Regions from separate parts of the Homo sapiens genome. Here region 1 is linked to region 2. The links are contacts of gene promoters, found by promoter capture Hi-C in blood cells and fetal thymus (Javierre and others, 2016). All regions are on one chromosome and are shown on one strand. Each heading gives the region's core, a stretch centred on a gene start or on the middle of the fragment in contact. The rest is flanking DNA. Distances are from core to core; before and after follow the strand shown. Region 1 holds the start of E2F7 (E2F transcription factor 7). Region 2 holds the start of PHLDA1 (pleckstrin homology like domain family A member 1).

Region 1 (5,816 bases), core at 1,863-4,362, 1.0 Mb before region 2:
GAGGTATATGTCTTCTCCCCTTGAATGTGGATGGATTTTTGACTGTTTCCTCCCAAAAACTGTAGTGGAATTGATGCTATCAGTTCTTAGGCTACGTCACAAAAGGTGATACTATTTCCACTTTGCTACATGACACATTCATTTTGGATCCCAGGAGCCACCCTGGAAGAAGTCCAACTACCTTGAGCTACCAGGATATCTAGACCAGGCCATATGGAGAGGTCACATGTCGAGACTCTTCTTGATACTCCAGCCTAGTTCCCAGCCAACATCAGTGTCAACTGAATTACCGAGAGATTAACAGGTTATGTATGCATTCTGGGACTTAAAAACATCAATATAAATAAGTGTGTTGGAATAATGTCTCTGAATTTGTCCATCAAACATTTATTTTTCAGTTTTCCTCCAAATCTAAGATAACTCTTATAATCAATGAAATTATAAGTGCCTGAAGTGATGTATCCAACTGAGTTTTTTTTGTAACTTGAATAGAAATTACATTTGTATCAAAATAGAAAAAGTACTTTTACTCTAAAAATGTTAGGAAAAGCCCTGTACCGTGAAACTGTCTAACCTCAAAGAAACGATCATTAGTATTTTGAAATATCAGAGAAATGAATGGACTTTAATAATTTGAATGTTGGTCTAGAAGGCTGAATGGTGGGCCCCAAAAAGGTGTATCCATGTCCTAATCCCCAGAACCCATGAAGGAATGTTACTCTGGAAAGAGGATCTTCCCAGATGCAATTAAATTGAAGATCTCAAGATGAGATCATCCTGGACTATCCAGGTGGGACCTAAATTCATTGACAGGTGTCCTCATAGGAGACACACAGGAGAGACTTAACAGACAAAAGAGAAAGCAACGTAACTATGGAGGTAGAAATTGGAGTGAGGCTGCCACGTGTCAAGGACTGTTAACAGCCACCAGAAACTGGAAGAGGAAAAGGACAAGAGCCCCAGAGGGAGTGTGGCCCTGGGAATACCTTAACTTTCCAGAACTGTGAGAGACTAAATCTCTGTCCTTATAAGCCAGTTGTAATTTGTTACAACAGCCATAGAAAATGAATACTGTTGGGAAAAGTATTTCCTTATCTAAACTTCTGCTTCCACATATGTGCAAAATTTAATAAGTTGCAATTTTTTATTGTTTAAACTTCTCATTAGGTTTCTACCTACAAAAGAGATTTCAGTTCAAAATGTTATTCCTATAAAAAATGTCAGATTTTTATTACTATTTTCTTTTGTTTAATGTTTTGCATACTTTTCTCTTTTCAATGTATGACCTAGCAGTGATTTTTTTTTTTTTAGGCCGTATTTACCAGCAATCTAGAGTACGAAGTGAAGGACTTGATTGAGCATTCTGAATTCTGCTGAGAGTTCATTTAAAATATATGTATTTGAGGCCGGGCACGGTGTCTCACACCTGTAATCCCAGCACTTTGGGAGGCCAAGGCAGGCAGGCAGATCACCTGAGGTTAGGAGTTCGAGACCAACCTGGCCAACACAGCAAAACCCCATCTCTACTAAAAATACAAAAATTAGCTGGGCGTGGTGGCGCACGGCTGTAGTCCCAGCTACTCGGGAGGCTGGGGCAGAGAATCGCTTGAACCCAGGAGGTGGAGGTTTCAGTGAGCCGAGATTGGGCCACTACACTCTAGCCTGGGTGACAGTGCAAGACTCCGTCTCCAAAAATAAAATAAAATAAAAATATTTGGAGGGTAAGTGGTGAAGAATGGAGTCTTGGTATAGAAAGGAAAATGATACCTTTGCTGTAAAGTAGATGGGGGGTAGGGACATGTCTGTACATTTAAGAATGTCTGATGCTTTAAGAAGGCTGTCTCACATTTCAGTTGAGGGATATCTTACAAAATACTTGACCAATACTACTCAAAAATGTCCAGGTATCAAAAATGAGGAAAGTATGAGAAACTGTCATAGCCAAGAGGAGCCTAGAGACATAGGAACTAAAGGTAATGTGGTATCCTGAACAGAAAAAAGGGCCATTAGGAAAAAATTAAGTAAATCTGAATAAAGTAATGACTTGAGCTCAGAAGAATGTACCAATATTAGATCATTAATTTCAAAAAATATTCTATACTAACACAAAATGTTAATAGTGGGTGAAATTGGGTGCTGAATATATGGGAATTCTTGGTACTATCTCAATTTTTCTGTAAATTGAAAACTTCTAAACAATAAAGTCTGTTTTGTAAAAAGTCCATCTCTACCAACATTCATATTTTAAACAAGAAACTGTAGGATGAAAGAAGTGAAACATTTAATACAGATCAGTGGTGTTGAGGAAATTTTCTAGACTGTCTCCCAGAATGCTAGTCCCTATTGCAAAGAACTACTTTTTTATATAAAGCTTTTTCCCTCCTAATTATTTGCAATTTGCCGAAAAGGGAACACCAAAAAACATTTCCGGATTTGCCACACACACAAAACAAACAAACAAAAAAAAGTTAGAAAAACTTCTGGTTTGGCTTCCAGTCTTGTCTCCAGGGCTAACTGGCGTGCCATCTGCTCGCAGCAGAGCGGTAACCATGGTTCATGTGTCACACCAGCGTGCGATGTTAAGAAGTTTGCCCCGGCAAGTCTGGACAACTCCGCTTCCGCACAGGTTGCTGAGGGCGGGCGGGGATGGCGGCAGCAGCATCCAGAGGGTGTAGATCGTTCTTCCAAACCCCATCTGCTTTCCTGTCCTCTGGCTGTGCCCGGGGTCCCCGGGCGCGGCAAGCCGCGGGGACGTGCGCGGGTCTTCTATGCATAACAAAAGAGCCCTCCTCCTCCTCTTCCTTCTCCCGCCGCCCCGCGCCGCCCCGCGCCGCCCCCACCTTGGCTTCCCGCGGCCGCCGGGGCCCGCGTCCCCAGCAGGAATTGGCTCCCGGGCCCGAGGTTTCCAGGTACCCGGAAGGGGGAGGGGGCCGAGGCGGCAACAATTGGGCGGGTGAGGGCAAAACGCGCGGCTCGGAGCGCCAAGACTCCGAGGGGCGGTGAGCCCGGGCCGTGCCGCCGCACGATTGGCCGGGGCCGCCCCGCCGGCCGCCGCTGATTGGTGGATTCTCAAATTCGGTCTCAAGGCGCCAGAGGAGGTGTTTTAGCGGGGACTACGATCCAGGCTGGAGTTGCGCTCGGCCGGTCTGAGCGCTGGCGCTGCCCGGACGCCGCGGGGTCCCCGCCAGCCCAGGGCACTCGGCGCGGGGATCTGCGCGCCTCGCTCTCCCTTCCCGATGCCGCCGCCCGGCTGCTGATCGCCGCACCACCTTCCCTCATCGGCTTGGGTCCGTGGAGGTCCCTGCAGAGGCAGGAAGCCTCCTTAGGAAAGCAGGGGTAAGCGTGCGGCCCCAGCGCCAGTGGGGAGGCGGGAATTGGGATACAGGGCCCACTCCCGCCCCGGCTGCCAGCCTGCCACTCCTCACGTCCCCCGGCTGGCGAGGGCTCGAGGTGTTTCTGCCGGGGAACCCGGTGCGCAGAGGGTGTGCCGGGTGCAGCTCTCACTCCGGCCCGGCAGTAGAGGGGATTTGCCCTTCCCCACAACTTGGAGCTTTCATTGGAGAAGTTTATTTGGGGGATCTGCTTGGAGGCCTGGGAAGGGGCTGCGCTCAGCGCTGAGTGGGTTTGGTCTAGCGATCGGGTTTCCTTCCCCCGATTCAAAACCCCTCAAAGCCGAATTCCTCTCAGTTCTTTGCGCCAAAATTAACTGACCTGGGAGACCCTGTACTTTTCTGACAGATTTGCCCAACACCCTTCCGACTTGGTAACTTTATTTTGCCATCTAGCTTTTCATAAGGAGTTACTATTTTTGTAGATTTTTTTCTTCCCAGATTTTCAGTATTACTAAGCACACTTTAGGTGTTTGAGTTTGTTCGCGTGAGTTTTAGAAAGTTGAGGGTGGCTACAACTCCTGGAAATGCCCAGGATGTGCTTAGAGAAGGGGGAATTTCATATTGACAAACAAGTAACACATATGTAGATATTTTTGTTTGAGGAAAAAATACCTAATTGCAAAATCATTTTCTAGTGTAATTGTGCATTACAGATGGAGGTAAATTGTTTAACACTAAAAGACCTGATCAGCCCCAGGCAGCCCAGACTAGATTTTGCAGTTGAAGATGGGGAAAATGCACAAAAGGTAAGCAAACATAAACACCTTAGTTTCTAATATGTTAAGGATGGTGATGTTGAATTCAATTAAGTGTTCCAACATGCCATTTGTATTTGTATTTAAGCATAATAATTAATATTGATAAACATTATAGAAACATTCTTTTTTAAAAATAGAGCCATCCAAACCATTATTGTTGGAATTCTACTCTCAGATATAGTGGGAAAAATAGGCAAGGTTACATGTAATGTTGTAACCAATTTATATAAGTCAAAAATATGCTGGCTACAGCAATCAAAGTTTATAATACAGTTGTCAAGGGTGGTGTAGCTAGTGCTCTGTAGGAATGCTAAGCCTCAGTTCCCAGGAAAATAGACCTTTGCAGGCATAAATGCTGGATTATTAAAGTGCTGTGAAATGTCTTCATACCAATGAACTAGCTCCCAGAGACTGTTCCATTCACCCAAGAGTAGACCTGTGCCTACTATATAGGGAGATAAAGTGGCTGAACTCATCAGTATATTCTGAATATTTTACCATACTGTTGCTAGTTTTGCACTGAGCCATTCCCTTACATTTTGCACCCCTTGTGATTTGTAAGACCAAGATGTTGTTTTCAAGAACATTACAAAGTAAACTGGCCATAACAATGTCTAAACTATCTGAGCATTTTTAGGCACAGGCAAATAGAAATAACAAACCAAGTTTTAGAAACTTTGAATATAAATCTGTGAGTAGCAACTTGGGCATTGAACTTCTCCGAGCTCCTGGTCTTATTTTTAGGCTTAGCATCAACAGTGAAACTCCTTGGTTGCAAAGCAACCCAGGCTCATATGAGCCTTTGAAGAATACTTGATAATTGCTAATTTAGGATAGATGCGAAATTGTATGCTCCCCCATCTAGGGATTTTTTTTTTGTCCGGCATTTTGATTTATTTTTATTAGGTAAAGAAATACAGTAGTTCCCCTTATCCACAGGGAATGTGTTCCAAGACCTGCAGTGAGTACCTGAAACTGTGGATAATAGTGAACCAGATTGCCATTAGTTGGAACACATTTCTGTTTATTCTGTTTATGTTTTCCACCCCCAAATTTAGTGCCTTTTCCATCTTAACTAAGTACTTATGTACCATGGCTATAACTTTTGCAGTTTGGGGTATGACAGCAAAACTAGCATGAATTTCTCTTTCATTCTTTACAATTTCACAGATAGGAGACTAATTCTTACAGTAGATCTTAGCAACCTTGGCGTACGATTTTCTTTCCTTAAGTCAAGAACGTTCACCTTTTCACTTAAAAGAAGCACTTTATGGCTTCCCTTTGGCATATCCAAATTGCCAGCATCACTACTCTTGTGCTTTGGAGCCATTATGAAGTCAAATAAGAGTTACTCGAACATGAGCACTGCAATACCGTGACAGCCAGCCTGAAAACACAGTGGCTGCTCGAGCAGGTAGTATCTACCGTGCAAATACGCTGGACAAAGGGGTGAGTCACATCCGAAGCAGGACGGAGCAGGATGACGTGAGATTTCATTACACAGAACTGCACACAATCTAAAACTCATGAATTGTTTATTTCTGGAATTTTCCATGTGATATTTTTGGACCGCAGTTGGCCACTGAAAGTGAAACCACAGATAAAGTGAAGATTATTTAAAGTGGCCTTTTTTTTTTTTTTTTAATTATCTAAGTCATGAGGGTGG
Region 2 (6,688 bases), core at 4,189-6,688:
AATACTTAACGTTTTCAACTCAAGGACTTTTGGAAACTAGAATCTAGAATATTTCTTCTGAATAGTACTTCAAAGATGAAATAAGGCTAAGAAGTCTAAACTGCACTCTGTGAGACTATTTGTTTATTTATTTAATTATTTATTTTGAGACAGATTCTCGCTCTGTTGCCCAGGCTGGAGTGCAGTGGCGTGATCTTGGCTCACTGTAACCTTCACCTCCCTGGCTCAAGCAATTCTCCTGCCTCAGCCTCCCGAGTAGCTGGGATTACAGGCGCTGTGGGTTTTTTTTTTTTTTGTATTTTTAGTAGAGACGGGGTTTCACCATGTTGGCCAGACTTGTGTCGAGCTCCTGACCTCAGGCAATCCGCCTGCCTCAGCCTCCCAAAGTGTTGGGATTACAGGCGTGAGCCACCGCGCCCAGCCTTGGTTATCTTTTATACCCTGATGAGGGTAACGTGACATGTTCATAATTTACTGGGCTTTAACTTTTTCTTGAAAGATGTTTGACCTTTGGTCTATCCAAATCTTTAATAATGATCATTGTCATGAGTTTCTACTGTATATTGCAAATTGGTTTACAGATCAGAATTTTGTAATCATTATGAATTAAACACTTAATAACTTTCCAAGTTCTGTTACATGTCTTTAAGCCAGTATTGATTAATGGACTTTTAGTCAAGTGTTTGACTATGTAACTGCCAAGTAAGAAACTTACCAACTCAGTTCCATTACTGTGTTTCTCATGCTTCTAAATACTCTTACTAGAAAACAGTAGGATACTAGTTTATATAAACACCTCTCATGATATTAAATTGCATGTTGCTTGGGAAAAGGTTTGTGGGATTTATTTTAGATGTCTGACTATAAAAGCATTTAAGATTCAGAGAGGCCTAGCATGTAGTTATCCATTTAAAAAGTATACCAGAGATATGTTTGTAGGGCAAATTTCAAGTCCTTACATCTCAAGTTTTAAAAAGTAGGATGCATCATGAAAAATCTGTCAAAAGCATTTGAAAAAATTGATATTCTTTTTATGATGGGTATGGACTTCTAATTCAATTCAAGATTTCTACCTATGTTGAGCATCTACTTGGTATCAAGACTTTTTCTAGGTGATTGGGACACATCAGAAACAATGGTCCTTGCCCTCTTGAATAGCTTGCATACTATTCTAGTGGGAAGGGGAACAGAAATAAGCAATAGGTACAATAAATTATTGAGTAGCATGTTAGAAGATAATATATGCTATGGGAAAAATTAAGGGGAATTGAGTGGCTACCATTTGAGAGTGATCAGGATAGGCCTGTTGAGCCAAGACTTGAAGAAAGTGATGGAGATAACTTTGGGTGCTATGCTGAAAATAGATAACAAGGATAGAATCAGGGAGACAAGTTAGGAGGCCATCATAGTAATCCAGTGGGGGGATATGATGGTGATTTGGATCAGGGTGGTAATGAAGGAAGTGGACAGAATCCAGATGTAGTTGAAGGCCTAACCAGTAGGATTTCCTGACTAAATGTGTAGATTAAATATTGGGAGAGAAAAAAATTACTACAAGGCAGGCATGATTCTACACACTTGAAGGCCTGGGGCAAGAGTACAATGGAGATACCGTATGTTTAAATATTTAAAAGTACTGTTTAATGAAAATATGCCCAATGTGCCTGTCTTGACAAACTTTCATTAGAACTGGGAAGCCAGGTTTGTATTTATGCCAGAATATAACTTGCGGGCAGAGCTGACCCTCAGCCCATGAGCCACCTTCCTTTTCTTCCCACCCCGGCTCTGAACTGTATGGCAAGGGGCCTCCTGCACATTTACTTGGATGCCATAACCAGTATATTCGAACTGCCCTATCCCCCTAACACATCAGTGCATGCAATGATGATGTAATGCATTTCCTGGAACAGCTGGGGCTATTCTGGGCAGGGTATTTGGGGTCTTGAGTACCTAGAGTGTAGTGCAGAATGAGTATGCTCTCTAGATTGACATGTCATCTTGACTCTAAAGCACTCAATCCTAAAGCTCAGGGCCTTGGATAAGGGCCTTTCCTGGCCTGGTGTAAGGGCAGTACTGATCTACGGTTTTTAGTTTGAGCATCTGTACAGAGGATTGCTGTCAACTGAGAAAGGGGGCTGCAGGTAGAGTAGGTTAGAGTGAGGAAAATAGTTTGGGAGCTCATTCACATGTTTGATTTCTTAGACTACACAAGCCGTACTGTAGAGAAGTGTAAATGGAGAATTTTCAACTTATAGTAGCACTCACTGGCCTGGAATTGATAAAAACTGAAGGCTGTTTTTCACTATAGTTAATTCTAACCTATAAACTGGAGCAGTTCCATGTAGGAATTTGTTAAAACCTATTGTGTATGAATTACAGACTCCTCTGACCATCCGAGTGTTCTTTTTCAGTTTTTTTTTTTTTTTCCTATGACCTAAAATCCCCTCAGACTTAAACCTTTAGTGAACTACTCAGTAAATGGCTTTACTAGTAAGTGTTCCCTTGCCTGGTATGTTTATTATTTTTTAACTTCAGTGTTTTATTCTTCGGCAGTAAGCAGTTGGATATAAGTTGGGGGTATAAATTTGGGACTCTGGCATATAGATGTTATTAAAAGTGATGAGACTGGATATCAACAAGGGAATGAGTGTAGATAAAGAAGAGAGCCAAAGACAAAGACTTGGGGCATTCCAACATTAAAAGTTTGGAGAGAAGAGAAAGCACCTCATAGAGGAGACACTGGAGATGTAAAGGAAAACTGAGTGATGTCCTTGAAGCCAAGTGATAAACTTTATCCAAGAGAAGAAAATGAACTGTCCAGTGCTGCTGATAGATAACTTTATATTGCCAGCTGTAAAATGTACTTTCAATTAGCCATTTCAAATTTGTTTACCAAAGCAATGATTTTGTTGGCTAGTTTTCTAAACTTCAGTAACTTTTCAGTGACTTGTAGGTTTTCATTGCATATACAGCTGAATTTTTTTTTTTTTTTAAACAGGGTCTTGCTGCCACCCAGGCTTGTATAGTGGTGCGATCCTAGCTCCTGCAACCTTGAACTTCTGGGCTCAAACAGTCCTCCACCTCAGCCTCCCAAGTAGCTGGGGCTACATGGCGCATGCCACCACACCTGGCTAATTTTTTTTTTACATTTGTAGAGGGAGGCCTTGCCATGTAGCCCAGGTTGGTTTCAAACTCCTGGGCTCAAGGGATCCTCTCACCTCAGCCTCCTAGAGTGTTGGTATTACAGGTGTGAACCACCATGCCTGGCCCAAAAGTTGTTTTTTTTTTTTTTAAGTTATTTTCTGTAATGCATTTTCTGTGAATTTATTGTCTTAAAAATTGGCAAATATGGCCATTTTGACATATTTGCCAAATATGAGCATATGGCAACTATGCTCTTAATTTGTTAAGTCACCAACTGTTGGTGGTAACTGTTGAAATAACAAGAGCAAAGTTATCACCAATCTACGGGATCCTTACACTACTGATATTTTCAATAATGCACCGTAGTCAGACATTGTAGACTTAACCTCTGAGCTGCTCACAAAATTACTAAATCATTCTGAAATACGTAACTGCAAATTCTGGGCTTTAAAGTCTCTAGTTAAATGGGTGATTTTGAAAATTGGTGGCTGTTCAGACATTTTCAAATGAGAATAGAATGCATTTGTTTCAGACTGATAAACTGCAGAAGGTTAGATAACACCAAACACATTTGAGTTTCTCCTAAGAAAATGACTTGGGCCTCCAGATTACATCTCATTTTTTTTTTTTTTACCCTATCAAGTTTGTTTTTCCATATGAAATGTCTTTCCCAACTACACCTGCCCTTGGAGACTGTGAATAACAGACTTAAAGGAAGTATCCTTTCCAGATGAGCTGAAGAATGTCATCCTCTTAAAAGAATGAACAGCTGGTCATGTAGAAATTCTCTGGAATGCTCACTTGTCCTACAAAGGCAGGGGAGCAGAAAACATGTAGTTTTTTTGTTATTGGTATACATAATTGTAAATCTTCGAGATAATTTTACTAGAAGTCCACATAATTTTAATAATTGCCTTTCTCCTGAAAAGATTGCTAATAAATTAACAATGTGAAGGCTAGAAAGCTGGCCAAGCATAATCCGGTGGGACTCAGGATTGCTGGCTGGATTGTCCCGTTTGATCAGACATTGTTTCTTAGATGAATATTCAGGACGCCCTCGTGTATAAAAGTTGTCCTTTGTTCTGACTACCTTGGTATTAAGTTCGAATTTCTTACCATGACACACAAAGGATTCGATTCTTGCTTAGCTCTCTAAGCTCCTCTCACTTTCTCTTCCCCTCTTGAATTCTTTGCTCTTGCCACACAACTAGCAGATGAACTAATCTATCTGTTCCAACGTGGGCACAGTAGCAGCCGTAACTCTTACCTTGGCCCACTCTGACTTGTCCAGCCCTGGTTGAATTCTTCGTATCCCCGTGAGGGTCCGCACGTAGTTGGGGCTGTTTACTAAACGGATGAACTTCCCTACCGGGAGGCTAGGTCTCGGTTATGCCTTACTTCCCAGGAAGCGGCTTCTATAGGCATTGTTTAAATGTAGGAGTAGGAGGGAGCTGGGGGTATTGCATTCCCCAGGTCACAGATAAATGAGATTCCAAAACCAAGATCTGGCTAGGCCTTGGAAAGAGGGACCTGCGAGGCCGACCAGACGTTTGGAACTGCGCCTTGCAGTGTGGGATCTCAGCACCGGATATTACCCCGGTTTGTAGAGAGTTGAGTTACTGTTTTAAGAGACGTTGCAAACCGTACGGGTCAAGAAGAAAGCCGAAGACGGGTTAGCGCCTGCGGTCGGGGTCGAGAAAAGCAGGCGAGATGCGACCTGACGTGGGTCCGCCTCTCTCCACCCGTGGCAAGCCCGACAGTCGCACTATTGCTTTAACAATCGCCCTCTTTCCAAGAAGAGCTACTTAGTGACCGTGAGCGAATATGCGTGGGAAGACACGATGTCCTCTCGGCCTCTGTGCGCTCAGTTGTTTACCTAGGCGTCCGGGGGAGGCACACTCGCGGGACTCGCGGGACTCGGCCCCGGCCTCCCAGCTCGCCCAGGACACGACGCTGGTTCTGCGGGCTCTCGGAGCCCAGCGCGAATCCCCCGGGCTAATTCCCAAGAACCGAGAGGCAGCACTGCCTGGAGGCTGCCCCCGCCTCCGCGCCCCCGTCCTCACTTTCTGAGGCTGTTAGCAGAGAGTCCCGCGGGCCGGGGAGAAGCGGGACGCGGGGGATGGCCTCGCAGCGCCCTGTGAGCGTCGGCAGTAGTCAGGCAGCCAGGGCTCCTTGGGCGATCGCCCTGGGTAGAGGAGAGGAGTTTCCGGGGCTCGGGTCCGGGTCGCCTTCCAGGGGAACGAGCGCGGAAGCAAGTGGGCGGCGAGAGGCGGAGCAAGAGACGCTGGAGGGCGTGGACGCAGCGGGCTTTGGAAAGGCCCCAAGTTAATGAGGCGTGCGCCGGCTGCCGAGCGCCTCTTGGAGCTGGGCTTTCCCCCGCGGTGCGGGCGCCAGGAGCCGCCTTTTCCGCTGGGTGTCACTCGGGGGTGGGGAAGATGGCCCATTCAAAAGCGCCGCGAGGGGGCCCGGCCAGTGCCCTTCAGTGAGCGCTCGCAAGAGGACGGCAGAGGCCCGGCAGCTCGGAGCTCCGGGACCTTGTGGCGCATCAGGACGCGGCTGTCCCTCTGCCGGGACCCAGAGCCGCCGCCGCCGCTCTGCCTCCTGCGTGTTAGCCTCCTCTGCGCGCTCCGGGCAGGCGGCCGTGGGAGCCGCTGGGGCGAGGACGGCGCGAGGCTGCTGCTGCTGCCCCCGGCCCGCGCGGCTGGAAACGGAGAGGCCGAGCCAAGCGGCGGCCCCTCTTATGCTGGGAGGATGCTGGAGAGTAGCGGCTGCAAAGCGCTGAAGGAGGGCGTGCTGGAGAAGCGCAGCGACGGGTTGTTGCAGCTCTGGAAGAAAAAGTGTTGCATCCTCACCGAGGAAGGGCTGCTGCTTATCCCGCCCAAGCAGCTGCAACACCAGCAGCAGCAGCAGCAACAGCAGCAGCAGCAGCAGCAACAACAGCCCGGGCAGGGGCCGGCCGAGCCGTCCCAACCCAGTGGCCCCGCTGTCGCCAGCCTCGAGCCGCCGGTCAAGCTCAAGGAACTGCACTTCTCCAACATGAAGACCGTGGACTGTGTGGAGCGCAAGGGCAAGTACATGTACTTCACTGTGGTGATGGCAGAGGGCAAGGAGATCGACTTTCGGTGCCCGCAAGACCAGGGCTGGAACGCCGAGATCACGCTGCAGATGGTGCAGTACAAGAATCGTCAGGCCATCCTGGCGGTCAAATCCACGCGGCAGAAGCAGCAGCACCTGGTCCAGCAGCAGCCCCCCTCGCAGCCGCAGCCGCAGCCGCAGCTCCAGCCCCAACCCCAGCCTCAGCCTCAGCCGCAACCCCAGCCCCAATCACAACCCCAGCCTCAGCCCCAACCCAAGCCTCAGCCCCAGCAGCTCCACCCGTATCCGCATCCACATCCACATCCACACTCTCATCCTCACTCGCACCCACACCCTCACCCGCACCCGCATCCGCACCAAATACCGCACCCACACCCACAGCCGCACTCGCAGCCGCACGGGCACCGGCTTCTCCGCAGCACCTCCAACTCTGCCTGAAAGGGGCAGC

Evidence for each region. Contacts are between HindIII fragments. The CHiCAGO score rates a contact against its expected background, and 5 or more counts as called.
Region 1: the fragment with the promoter of E2F7 here is called in contact with the fragment with the promoter of PHLDA1 in region 2 in 1 of 17 cell types (fetal thymus); the score reaches 5.1 in fetal thymus.

What each region holds. Positions count from the first base shown.
Region 1 is chr12:77,062,865-77,068,680 of GRCh38, reverse strand. E2F7 (E2F transcription factor 7) reads left to right here and starts at 3,112. Exons shown (of 13, transcript NM_203394.3): 1 at 3,112-3,336; 2 at 4,046-4,138. The coding sequence starts at 4,046. RefSeq lists enhancers at 2,493-2,722, 2,458-3,164, 5,564-5,713, 5,744-5,803 and silencers at 2,773-3,202, 3,223-3,272. The HindIII fragment of the contact is 4,360 bases long and covers 2,374-5,816 here.
Region 2 is chr12:76,030,526-76,037,213 of GRCh38, reverse strand. It overlaps PHLDA1 (pleckstrin homology like domain family A member 1), which reads left to right and starts at 5,438. Exons shown (of 2, transcript NM_007350.3): 1 at 5,438-6,688. The coding sequence starts at 5,473. The coding sequence ends at 6,678. PHLDA1-AS1 (PHLDA1 antisense RNA 1) reads right to left here. Exons shown (of 2, transcript NR_186034.1): 1 at 6,620-6,688; 2 at 5,836-6,303. PHLDA1-DT (PHLDA1 divergent transcript) reads right to left here and starts at 5,401. Exons shown (of 2, transcript NR_185978.1): 1 at 4,412-5,401; 2 at 2,825-3,950. It overlaps NAP1L1 (nucleosome assembly protein 1 like 1), which reads left to right. Exons shown (of 15, transcript NM_004537.7): 15 at 1-629. RefSeq lists an enhancer at 5,283-5,532 and a silencer at 5,753-5,902. The HindIII fragment of the contact is 8,299 bases long and covers 1-6,688 here.